4 separate regions of the Homo sapiens genome follow, and regions 1, 3 and 4 are each linked to region 2. Evidence: promoter capture Hi-C in 16 types of primary human blood cells and fetal thymus (Javierre and others, 2016). All regions are on one chromosome and are shown on one strand. The core of a region is centred on a gene start or on the middle of the fragment in contact, and the rest is flanking DNA. Distances in the headings are between cores, read along the strand shown. Region 1 holds the start of POGLUT1 (protein O-glucosyltransferase 1). Region 2 overlaps HACD2 (3-hydroxyacyl-CoA dehydratase 2). Region 3 holds the start of CHCHD6 (coiled-coil-helix-coiled-coil-helix domain containing 6). Region 4 holds the start of SEC61A1 (SEC61 translocon subunit alpha 1).

Region 1 (2,968 bases), core at 112-2,611, 4.1 Mb after region 2:
GATTACAGGCATGAACCACCATGCCCAGCCTGATGTGCATTTTCTAAAGATAACCATCAGGAAATTTAGGACTAGATTCAGCGATAGATGGGTTTATTTCCTCAACAATATTTATCGAGCACGCACTGACAGCTAGCACCAGGGAGACAACAGCAAATAAGACACAGACCCTGACCTCAGGAAGCTTGCAGCCCAGTGGGAAAAACAGATGCACATGCACTGAATCCCGCAGTGAGTCAGTGGTTAGGTTGACACCACCTGAGCCTTTCCCATGCGAGAGCATTTTTATTCCCCAGAAATAGAAAAACATCCTTGCCTTTCTGACCACTGCAACCAAAATCTCTCAAGGATGTTAGAATACTTCCTGTGACAGCAACTAAACTCTCAAAGACACATCAAAGAAAAGAACTCACCCATGGTAGCAGCTGCAGTTTTGACTTGAACATGGTTCGTAATTCTCCAAAGACCTGTTAATTTGGTCAATAAATACTTTCCATTTTGAACCTTTAAAAAGTGAAGTAAATGAGAGTTAAAAAAATTTTCCTGAATGTTATTTGCTGACACCACACCAACAGAAGAAACAGAAGACCAAAACTTTCAGAAATCCCCTTCCCATCCCACTGATGGAAACGAAACGCTAGGGAGGAATTTTTGTGTGTGCAACTCCCACGCTCACGTCAAGTCTGTTCCTCTATCCGGCTGTCAGGTGTCCAAGAAACTGGAAAATTCCCAAGCTTAATGCTCAACCCTCAGAATGCTATGGATAGTGACGCGGACTCTCACTTTCTACTAATCAAATTGAACTCCACAAAGAGGATCAGTTAAAAGCTACAGACATTAAACCCCTCTTCTCTTCTGGCAACGCATATACACACACGCTCGCGCGCACGACATTTGCCCCCATCCCCGACCCCTCAGTGTTTCAGGCAGGTCCAGAGTAGCCAAGCACGGGCCACGCCTCCTGCGGGTGAACGGGGAATTCCCTCTCCTCCCTGTCATTCTGAATTCCGGGGAATGGGTTACTCTCCAGGGTCCAGAGCAGGAGCAGAGACCCCGGCACCTCACTCTCCGCCGCAAGGCGCCCCGGTGCCTTCTGCCCAGCTCCGAGCTACAGCGGCCACGGCATCTTCCCGGGAGCCGGCCGCGCGGGGGAGCGCCTCGGGACTCCGGCCAGACCCCGAGCCCAAGGGGCAGGCTCGGCACTGCCCGGAGCCCACCTGACTCCTTCTGGCGGCCCTGCGCTGAGGGCAGGAGGAACAACAGCAGCCAGAGCCGAAGCGGCGAGCTAGCCCACCACTCCATCGCCGGCAGACCTACTGCAGATTCCCCGCTGCGGCGCTGGCGGAAGCGCGGCCCCGCACAAAGATGGCCCGGGAGCCGCAGCACGTGGGCGGCGGGTCGCCCCGCACAAAGATGGCCACCGTGGCCCCACCACCCTTCCTCCAGTCCCCAGCCTTGAGGCGGAGTTTCCCTGAGAAGGCTGCGCCGGGAAGGTGGGGAGGATAAACGAATGGACCAGTTGCCTATCCTCCCTCCCTGGCACCCCTGGGAAAATAGGTCTGCAGCCAGAAAACTGAAGGTCAGAGAGGGTATGTTTCACGGTTAGTGGCACAACCAAGACTTGGCATAGAGCCTAGGCCAAACAGTTCTTCTCTTGACGTCAAATTGCCTCTTATCAAATAGCATAAATTTGTTGAGCATGTGTGTGTGTGTGTGTGTGTGTGTGTGTGTGTGTGTACAGCACGGTTAGACCCCAAAGGTTGCAATTAGCATAGCAGGGATCCCTTTGTAATAGGAATTTATAACAGTTGGGGTGACTTAGACGTAGGAAAAAAGATCAATGGTGTTAAATAAAGTTTATGGGAGGTCGTTGTTTTGGACAGAACTCTGGCACTAGGCCTCAAGAGAGCAGACAAAACCAGAATGGAGGCAACTTGTCCTAGGTGCTGCGTAATTAAACTCAGCTTTAAAAGGGGTCAGTTTTCCAACAAATAGGAGAAGGGGCCCATATACCTGAGCTGGCATGATAAAGAAGTCCCCTCTGATGTAACTCTTTGAGGAAAGTAACTTCAAAATGACCAATCTGCTTTTTGTTCCTTATTTCTGCTTTCTTCAGCCCTTTTCTGCCTATAAGCCCAACCCCTTCTGCTCAGCTCATTAGAACACTTTTCTGTTTTATAGATGAGATGCTGCCTGATTCATGAATCACTAATAAAAGCCAATTCGATTTTTTTTTTTTTTTGAGACAGAGGACAGTCTAACTCTGTTGCCCAGCCTGGAGTGCAGTGGCACAATCTTGGCTCACTATGACGTCTGCCTCCCGGGTTCAAGCAATTCTTCTGTCTCAGTCTCCCGAGTAGCTGGGATTACAGGAGTGTGTCACCATGCCCGGGTAATTTTTGTATTTTTAGTAAAGACAGGGTTTCACCGTGTTGGCCAGGTTGGTCTCAAACTCCTGACCTCAGGTGATCTGCCCACCTCGGCCTCCCAAAGTGCTGGGATTACAGGCGTGAGCCACCATGCCTGGCCAAGAACTTTAAACTAAATTTGATGAAATTTTGTTTCTTGACAGTGGGCAACATGATACTGGACAATATAGGTATATAGTATAGTACAGGTATATATCTTTATACAGGTATATATAGGTCAGTGTAGATATATTTAGTAATCATAGAACTACAAATATTTATCTATTTTCTTTTTTTTTTTTTTTTTTGAGATGGAGTTTCGCTCTTGTTGCCCAGGCTGGAGTGCAATGGTTCAATATCGGCTCACCACAACCTCCGCCTCCTGGGTTCAAGCAATTCTCCTGCCTCAGCCTCCTGAGTAGGTGGATTACAGGCTTGCGCCACCACACCCGGCTAATTTTGTATTTTTAGTAGAGATGGGGTTTCTCCATATTTGTCAGGCTGGTCTCGAACTCCCGACCTCCGGTGATCCACCAGCCTCGACCTCCCAAAGTGCTGGG
Region 2 (2,778 bases), core at 20-2,519:
CGCGAGGGCCGCGGGAGGAAAGGTGGGGCTGGCCACAGGTGCGGGGCCGGGGGCAGCGGCCGGACTACCTGCGGCGCGGAGCCCGTCCTGGGCGGCCAGATTCGGATGTTGAACGGCGCCAGCATGGGGAGTGGAGGAGCTGTGGCTGCAGAGTGACCATTCATTTGGGCGGCTGTTTTCAAAATCTGGGCTGCGCTTTAATCTGAAAGGTATTGGGAAAGCGTTCAAAGTTTTTGGCCAGCGACATGAGCAGAGCTAGGCTTTAGATGAGTTTAGACTTTTAGGATGGGTTGGGGTGGGGAAGAAACTGGGGAGTAGAAGGCAGAGTTACTGGAAAGGGGGAGAATGGACCCTCGAAACGGTTTTACCCATCTTCTGTCTCTTTCATTTCAGTGCATCCCTTATCCCGGCGGGTTTTTAGTTCAAGCTCTGCCACTAACTAGCTGTGTGACTTTGGATAAATCATCTTATTTCTCTAGCCTCCGTTTTTTCATTTGTAAAACTAAAGGGTTGGTCTGGGTGATGAAGGTTCCTTCAGCTCTGCAATTCTTTATCTTGTCATTTTGGTGAGGAGGATCACAGCATCAGACAGTTATATATTTTTAAGTTATCTTCATTTGTAATTTTTTAAGAAGTCCTAACATTTTATTATGAAAAATTTCAAACATACAGAAGAGTTGAAAGAATTGTATAGTGAACATCCATTTTTATTTAAAGTAGGTGATACATTGTTAGGGTTAAAAATGAAAAACATGAGGGAATACAGTGAAAATCTTTCCTCCCACCTTTCCCTTCTACCCAGCTCCCCTCCCTCGAGGCAGTTAATTTTGTGTATCCTTAAGATGCTGATGCAAGCAAATATGTTTATACATCCCCCTATCCCTTTTTAAAATAAGACAAATGCCAATATATTAATATTTTTACAGTTCAGCACCTTGCTTTTTTTTCACGAAGAAGAAAATATATCGTGGGAGGATCATATATGTATTGCTAGTATTAGAAATGGTAGGTGTTGGAACCTAGGCTCAGAGAAGTTGTGACTTGCATGAGATCATAGAACTTGTTAGTAGAAGTTCCAGATCTAGAAATCATTTCTCTTGACTCACAGGTCAATGAAGAACTAGTACAGATACAAGCTTTATATCACATCAGTGGTCACATAGATTGATTTTTAAAAAAACATCCAGGAATCTCACTGTGTGTATTAATATTTATATATAAAATTCTTGTTGTCTTAGCAAGAGCCGGTGAGGGCATTGGACTGGAGAGGGATTTTGAGGTACATTGGTAAGAAGAAAGAAGTCTATTCCTGAGCAATGAACATAGAGAATGGGGTGGAGGGTAAGGAGTGGTATCTTAAACCAGGAAGATAAATTGGGATTGTGAGAGCAAAGTAAGCTTTTTTTTTAAGGCTGTTAATGGTTGTACCAGTTACACCATTAAATAATTTCTTCTTTTACAAACTCTTACTTGATGTCCTTATGTGATAGTTTTTGGAAATAGCATAGACCACACACACCCCATTGCCTAGTTGATACTATACATTTATCTAAATCCTTCCAGGAGACATACCTTAATAAAAAGGTCCATTTGTTTTATTATGGAACTTAACAAAACATTGTGTTTATTTTTGAGAAGGACAGTGGAACAAAAATATAACATTCACAGCTGTATGCTTAAGTGCTTTCCTGTTTCGTGGTTTGTATTGATCTGGCTTTCATTTCTGCATTGATTTTAGGAAATTTGGCTAAAAAACTTTTTTTTTTTAGCAAGAGCCCTTTATTCGTAATTTTAAAAGGATAGATTTTAAGGTATGGGTAATTGTTCCAGTGAGACAATTATAACAATAGTTTAAAGCATCTTCTTTCCACCCTGTAATTATTAAAAACCCTTTAACTGCACAGGCTGTTTAAAATTTTCCTTTAACTGTTTTTTTCTCGTCTTAGATTTTCTTGGCACCTGATTTAGTGGCACAAGGACCATTTTAGCTTATTCCTTTCCTTTTGGCCTTGATCTCAATAGCAAAGTTGCCAAAAAAATGAGCTCCAGATGGGTGAGGTGCCACTATGCTTTCACTGAGCCCTCTTGGTAAGGTGCTGTCGGTGTTGCAACATTTCAGTGCATTACAGCTTGGCATTTGAGAGCTATCGTCCATAAATCCAGGTTACTCATGCTTGAGGTCACCTTTAGCAATATCTTTTATTGCCACAGCTGTGTGTTAACCTAAATGCTACTTTTTTTATTTTTATTTTTTCCTGATTGCTGTTTTCTCTTTTACTAGGTGGCTGGTTATAGCGGTTGGTCTGGTCCGAGCATACCTGGCTAAGGGTAGCTACCATAGCCTTTATTATTCAATTGAAAAGCCTTTGAAATTCTTTCAAACTGGAGCCTTATTGGAGGTAGGTCCTGAGATTTATTGTTGTTATTGATTTCCATTGGTATGAAGAAAAACATGCAACTAAATTATATTGAAGTAGCATACCCCCTTTGGATTCATGTTAAATTTTGAAATTTTGCCTCCTCACATACTAAAGTGTTGATACCTAGGCTTTTTGATGTTCTAGATTGGGTAGAATCTCATTTAACTTAGGTTACCTTGAATGTATTTTATATTCGACTTTTTTGGGAAATCAACTGAAGCAAGCTTATATTAGGATTTTTAAAAATTCTAGGGACATCCTGGGGAAGCACTGGCAAAATCAGATGCTTTCAGGGTTTATGTAATAGAAATAGTGAAGTTGGTGGGTGTAGGATATTGGAAGTGATAGATAGAAGACA
Region 3 (2,854 bases), core at 115-2,614, 3.1 Mb before region 2:
GACACAGGTGGAGGAAGAGGCCGAGCACAGCAACATGCCCTGGAATTGGCTTGTTTCAATCCCAGCTCTCCCACTTACTATTTACATGATCTTGGATCAGTTCGTTCACCTCTCAGTGCCTCACTTCTCCTTAATCTACAATAATGGGCTAAATAGGGCTGTTGAAAATTAAATCAGTTAACTTATAAAGGGTTTAGTCCAACGCATGGCCCCTACACTGCAATAAGAGCTGCTTTTATTCTTCTGGGTTCTGGGGACAGTCTTCAATCAGACAGGAACCTTAGCCTCAAAAAGCTTACACTCTAGCAGTAAACGCAATAAACAAGTAAACAATTATCAACAGAAGCGATCACTGTGATGAGTGCTATGAAAATAATAAATGTTGGACGCGGGGTGGGAGGTTACTTCAGATTGGGTGGTCAGGGAAGGATTCTCTGGTGATATCTGAATTACAACAAGAATTACAAGAAACAGCGGGATTTAAGGAGAGCTGAAGGAGAGAGAACAGCCGGCGCACAGACCCTGAGCTGAGCCAGCGGCACCCTCCAGGAAAACACGGCGGTCCTGAGGCTGGGGACGAGGTGCGGGTGCCACGCGAGGGAAATGGCACGAGATGCAGTCCCAGAGGGATGCAGTCCCCAGAGGTCGACGGGCAGCGGCCAGCTTTGGAACCAGGGAAGGCATCATCCAAGCGCGCTAGGAACCCACTGGAGGGTTTCAGGCAAGGAAGGGGATCAGATCTGAGCTATGGTTCTTCCTGCGCCCCGCAGATGTGCTGTGGAGAACAGGCCGGCGGGGAAGAGCTGAGTCCCCAGGCAAAGCCCAGGTGGGAGACACCGCGTACCCAGAACGAGATGCGCGCACCTGAGGGGCCACGGGCTGGGAGGCCGGGCGCAAATTCAAGAAACGTAAAAACTAAGCCGACCGGAGCCAGGACGTGGCCAGGGCGTCCCTCGTGTCCCAGGGGCCTCGCACCTGTACAGTTCTTCACTCCTCCTTCCCTGAAGCCCATGTCGCGAAGCTCCAAGGCTGCCAGCCTCGGGCTCGCGTCTCGGCTCAGCCTCTTCCTGGCCTGAGCCCCCGGAGTCTCCCAAGCCCCACGCCCCTCACGCGTGGAAAGAGCCCCGGCCCTGCGCTCCGCCCCGCACCTCCCCCCCGCGCCCGCGGCCTCCACGCCCGCCCCGGCCCAGGCGGCGCCGCTCACCCGGACACCCTGCAGCACCCGGACCCGCTCCTCCTCGTCCACTCCGAAGGACACCCTGCGGCCCTCGCTGCTCTCCGTGCTCCCCATGGCGAGATGCCGCAGGGCCGGCAGCCACCAGACCCGAGACCCGGCTCCAGAGCAACCGGGCCAACAACGCTTTCCAGGACTCGCGCGGCCGCGGCACACGCCAACAAAGCCACGTCCTATTGGCCGACGCCAGAGGCTTCACCAATCGGGTGGCGCTGAGTCGCGGTGCCTTGTGGGGATTGCAGTCCTTCCGTCTGGAGGGGTGGGGGCGTGGCGGTCTGTGCCTGCTAGAGTGCGTTAGGCTGAGGCCGAAGATGTGTACCGGCGGAGGCCCTGGAGTGGAGGGCTGGGTGCAGGACAGGGTCACGTTCTCGCTTTGGGAGCTCCCCCTTGAGGGAGAGCCAAGGGTGATGTTCTGAGGCCAGGAGACGCCGAGACGGCCAAGGCGCTCATCTGGAGGCGAATTTCTGAGGGTTCACTGCTCCATTCATTCAGCAAACACGTGTAGAGCAGCACGGGCTGAGCGCCAGACGAGCAGGGACCTGGCCCTGGCATTACAGCGCCCCTCAAGACAGCGAGTGTCCTGCCCTTGAGAGGTTTACAGTGCAAGGGGAAAACAAGTGAAAAGCCAAACACGCACGCAAGGAAACTGACTGTAATACACGGAAAACTGCATGGCGATGCCACTAGTAAAATGAACAGAAGGAGGCCTCTTTTAATTTCAGTGGCCAGAGCAACCTCTGAGGAAGAAGCTTTGAACTGAGCCGGCGGGAGAGTAGGATTTATGTAGAAAAAGGTAGGGGAAGAGGTTTCCTGGGAGTCTCAGGCAGGAAAAGAGAAAGAGGGGTCATCCCATGGCTGGAAAGTGAGAAGAGGGCAGAGGAGTGGTGAGGACCCAAATCATGTCGGGTCTTGTGAGGCAGGGTCTGAGTGTGGGTTTTATTCTAAACGCCCCGGGAGGACAGGGAATGGTCCTAAGCCGTTAGGAGGCATTGCCCAAGGAGTGTACATACCATGTGTGGAGTGCAGTGTGCCAGGCATTGTGTGTAGGCTTCTTACACAGGACCCTATGTGTAAGGGAGCACACAGACGGTTGCCAGTCATAGACACTGCTACCTTCAAATAAGCCCCTTTTTGTTCCTCTGAGTTGCTGAATGGCTTTGATTTGCAAAAGTGCGCCTGAAGCCGAGCTGAGGAAAACTAGATGGCTACATGAAATAGCCAGAAAATATTTGGAGCTCCTATTGGCAACCTGGAAAGAAAGGGGTGAGGAGGAGAGAATGATTGAGAGAGAGCAGTAAGGCTCTGAGATTGAGAATAGCTCAGGGTGAAGAAGCTAGTAAACATCCCAGAGCTGGTGTGACGATGGAATCTTTAGGAACAAAGGTGTCTGCTAGTTTCATTCAAAATACTTCATTGGCGCACCCCACTCCATCACCTCTGTCGTCCATTTCTTCCCTATAAGCAGAGCCTGCGTAGGGGATTCTGGTGCAAGGAGTTTCCTGGGGGAGCACCTCAGGAGAAAGGAAGTTAGGGAGACAGGCTAAGAGGGGTGGGGACCGGGGGCCGCGGGGAAAACTGAGTAAAGATGTGGTCAGACCTGGTCCTGGGCTTTCCTTTGTC
Region 4 (2,851 bases), core at 172-2,671, 4.5 Mb before region 2:
ATACCTTGCACGTATTTCCCTTGTTCCGTCTACCACACTGAGTTACAAGGCCAAGGTCACATAGCTATTAAGGTGCTATGTAAAGGGTGGGACCTAGGCTTGCCTGCCTCCAGAGCCATGCCCCTTCGCTACACTGGAATTGAGGGGGTAAAGCTTTACAAATTCGTCCATTAAAAGCAGCACATGGGCATTTATATGAAACTATTTTACGTAAAAAAATGAAAGTGGATTCCAAGCACCCAAGTGTCCATGTGAATGCTTTAACAACAGTTTGAAAAATAATGTGAGGACACAAACATTTTATTCCCCACTCTCTAACCTAGGAACCTAATGAAACTTTTTTTCGTTGACAGCTGTAGTTACACTGGCAACACTCACTCCACACAATTTCTGATTCAGCACAGCTCTAAATTTAATCTTTCCTTGTTTTAATACACCGTCTGTGAAAAGCAGCAGACTTCACAAAAGAATAGCCTTTATTCCCCCTATTGTGACAGCCTACATAAAAGGTACAAAATCATTTGTAAATACTAAAGTGACAGCCCTTCCCTTTAGCAGCTGGATACAAAGGGCATCTCCTGGGAAAAAAAACCAACCCGTGATCTGCTCCCGTTGGAGGTGAAAAAGGGAGGGTAACTCAATCTGCTATCCTAACTGAGGCCTTATTCATTCATGGCCCGGATCCATTTTTGGGACAGGGCAACCGGAGGCTTTGTTCTCGGAGCAACATCCACCAAAGATGCTCCAAATAAAGCACAGTGATTTCAGTGGAAATTTCCACACAACCAGGTCACCTTTCGACAGCTCTCCGGAATAACAGAGCACAACTACACTCCAAGGGAAGAGAAGGGAGAGTTTCCATTGCCGTGCTGAAGCCATTTTTAATCATACTGTAAACTTCCAGAGTCCAGACAGTTTCCTGAAACCTTCTTTGTTGGCGATTTGGGGTACTTACCTTCCTCTCTGGCTTCTGAATTTCCGGCAGGATGACACAGAAGGGCTTGATGACTTCCAGAAATTTGACTTTGATGGGAGAAACAAAACAGGAAGAGTTGGGACACAGAGAAGTAACCTTCCGCGCTACCCAGGGACGCCTTCTGCCCACGACGAGTGAGAGCAGGGGCCAGGGGAGCCGGCCGCACCCCGGACGCGTGGGGATACTCGAGAAGGGCCGGGGGCACGGGCCGCGTTCTGCAGGGGGCCGGTCAGGGTTGGCCGGCGGGCGCCCGACCGCACGGGTGTGGGGAAGGGGGATCTGTTCCGTCCCGGCCTCAATAGGGCTTCCCTACAGGACTCACTTGCCATGGCGGCGGCTGCTCGGGCTCCGGGTCCCGCTTCAGCTCAGCTCTGCTCCGCGTGAGGCGACGCTGCCCGCGGCCCAGCGCGTTCCACTGCACAGCAGCTCCGCCGAGAGACACGTCAGTGCTAGCCCGGCGGCAAGCGGCGCGGCGCGGCGCGGGGCGGGGCCGGGGCCGGGCCTCGGATCGCTTCCGCTTCCTGCCACGCGCGCCCGCCGGCCGCCGCGCTTCGCCGCGCCGCGCCGCTTCGCCGAGACCTCAAGCCCCGGCATGCAGCGGGGCTCCTGGGGCCTGTCGGGAAGGGGCCTGGCGCGCGGGGCCCGCCGGGACTGGGGGTGTGCGGCTGCGCAGACTTGGTAACGCGAGAGCGCGCGGGGAGGGTGTGTCACGCCTCCCGAGACTGGGGCTGTGCGGCCTCACGGAGAAACTGAGGCAGGCGCGAAGCGTCGAGTGCGCGCGTGGCCCTGCAGGCAGGCGGAGACCCTGGTGGCTCCCATACACGTAACAGCACTCACTGCTCTTTGACGTTAGTGAATAGACCGTAAGCTCCCTGGAGCAGGGACCTTATCCCAGCGTCTACCGCGGCGCCCGTCACCTAGTAGGTCTCCGTCATTACCTGCTGAGTAGGGCGCGGGCTGGTGGGGCTTACCGAGCACCCTCGCTGTCTGAGTCATTAAGCAAACCCGGAGGCTTGTCGTGGGTGTGGGTCCCCTTCCATCTGAGAACGAATGGGATGAGTTTCTGGAGAGACTTGGCCGGAGAAGGGCCGGGGCAGCTCGGGAAGTAGTCTGCCTCACAGAAGAATTCAGGAAGGCCTCCTGGGAGAGTACCTTTGTGCCGAGCCTTGATAGATTCTGGCGAGAAGGAATGAGGGAACAGGTTGAGGAGACTGTTGTGGGCAAAGCATGGCGGTGTGATTGCCTAAGATCGGTGTGGGAAAGGGGGATAACGGGTAGGGCAAGGGATGCTGGGGCTGGGGGTTGGAATTTACTTTCAGGCATCTGTAGTCAGTAGGTATGATGTCATCTAAGAGAAACAGACTTAATGCTGTGAGCATTTAGCAGGGAGGAGGTGGGCACGCCTTGTGGGATCAGGCAAGGTTTCATGGAGCTAAACCTTGACCAGGACAGGTAGAAGTTGAGGGTACATATGTGGCAAGATGCTTTTTTGCTTTTAATTTAGGTGTCAACTATTTGGATTTTTCCATTCTCACCCATTTCTAGCAGATAATCAGGTTTTGTACATTCTTGGCTCAGAAAGTTGGACAGGACAGGAAGTCTTTTTTGGAATACAAACCCACTGGTGGAAAATTCAAAGGACTACTGGGAACAGGCAGGTAACTTCAGTGAAGTGGTCTAGGTGTGACATCACTTGATATCCATCCCCCACCAAAAAGGGGAAAAAGAAGACATTGACTCTTTATTCAGAGTCTGAAATGCAACCCATCTTCACTTCCAGGACCCACTGATGATCTCTTCTGGAGTTTTGGCCTGAAGCTAAAACTGGCAGCCCCTGGACTAAGTTCAGCATATAGACTAGATCCGATATTTAGC

What was found. The method cuts DNA at HindIII sites, captures the fragments that hold promoters and counts their contacts. A CHiCAGO score of 5 or more calls a contact.
Region 1: the fragment with the promoter of POGLUT1 here is called in contact with a fragment that was not itself captured in region 2 in 2 of 17 cell types (naive B cells and non-activated CD4 T cells); the score reaches 5.6 in naive B cells.
Region 3: a contact is called between the fragment with the promoter of CHCHD6 here and a fragment that was not itself captured in region 2, in 1 of 17 cell types (activated CD4 T cells). The highest score is 5.7, in activated CD4 T cells.
Region 4: a contact is called between the fragment with the promoter of SEC61A1 here and a fragment that was not itself captured in region 2, in 2 of 17 cell types (total CD8 T cells and total CD4 T cells). The highest score is 7.6, in total CD8 T cells.

The regions. Positions count from the first base shown.
Region 1 is chr3:119,467,356-119,470,323 of GRCh38, reverse strand. It overlaps POGLUT1 (protein O-glucosyltransferase 1), which reads right to left and starts at 1,361. Exons shown (of 11, transcript NM_152305.3): 1 at 1,218-1,361; 2 at 414-504. The coding sequence starts at 1,302. RefSeq lists a silencer at 1,085-1,284 and enhancers at 1,335-1,504, 1,197-1,697. The HindIII fragment of the contact is 3,798 bases long and covers 737-2,968 here.
Region 2 is chr3:123,581,833-123,584,610 of GRCh38, reverse strand. It overlaps HACD2 (3-hydroxyacyl-CoA dehydratase 2), which reads left to right. Exons shown (of 7, transcript NM_198402.5): 2 at 2,282-2,399. Among named protein-coding and RNA genes, the nearest start is that of HACD2, 1.8 kb to the left of the region's middle. RefSeq lists silencers at 1-43, 54-233. The HindIII fragment of the contact is 262 bases long and covers 1,139-1,400 here.
Region 3 is chr3:126,702,750-126,705,603 of GRCh38, reverse strand. CHCHD6 (coiled-coil-helix-coiled-coil-helix domain containing 6) reads right to left here and starts at 1,364. Exons shown (of 8, transcript NM_032343.3): 1 at 1,205-1,364. The coding sequence starts at 1,291. RefSeq lists enhancers at 113-664, 1,725-1,784 and a silencer at 975-1,174. The HindIII fragment of the contact is 1,689 bases long and covers 297-1,985 here.
Region 4 is chr3:128,051,007-128,053,857 of GRCh38, reverse strand. It overlaps SEC61A1 (SEC61 translocon subunit alpha 1), which reads right to left and starts at 1,421. Exons shown (of 12, transcript NM_013336.4): 1 at 1,299-1,421; 2 at 956-1,023. The coding sequence starts at 1,305. It overlaps LOC102723759 (a long non-coding RNA gene), which reads left to right and starts at 1,683. Exons shown (of 4, transcript XR_007096073.1): 1 at 1,683-1,896. RefSeq lists a silencer at 1,108-1,747 and a cis regulatory region at 1,240-1,856. The HindIII fragment of the contact is 3,738 bases long and covers 156-2,851 here.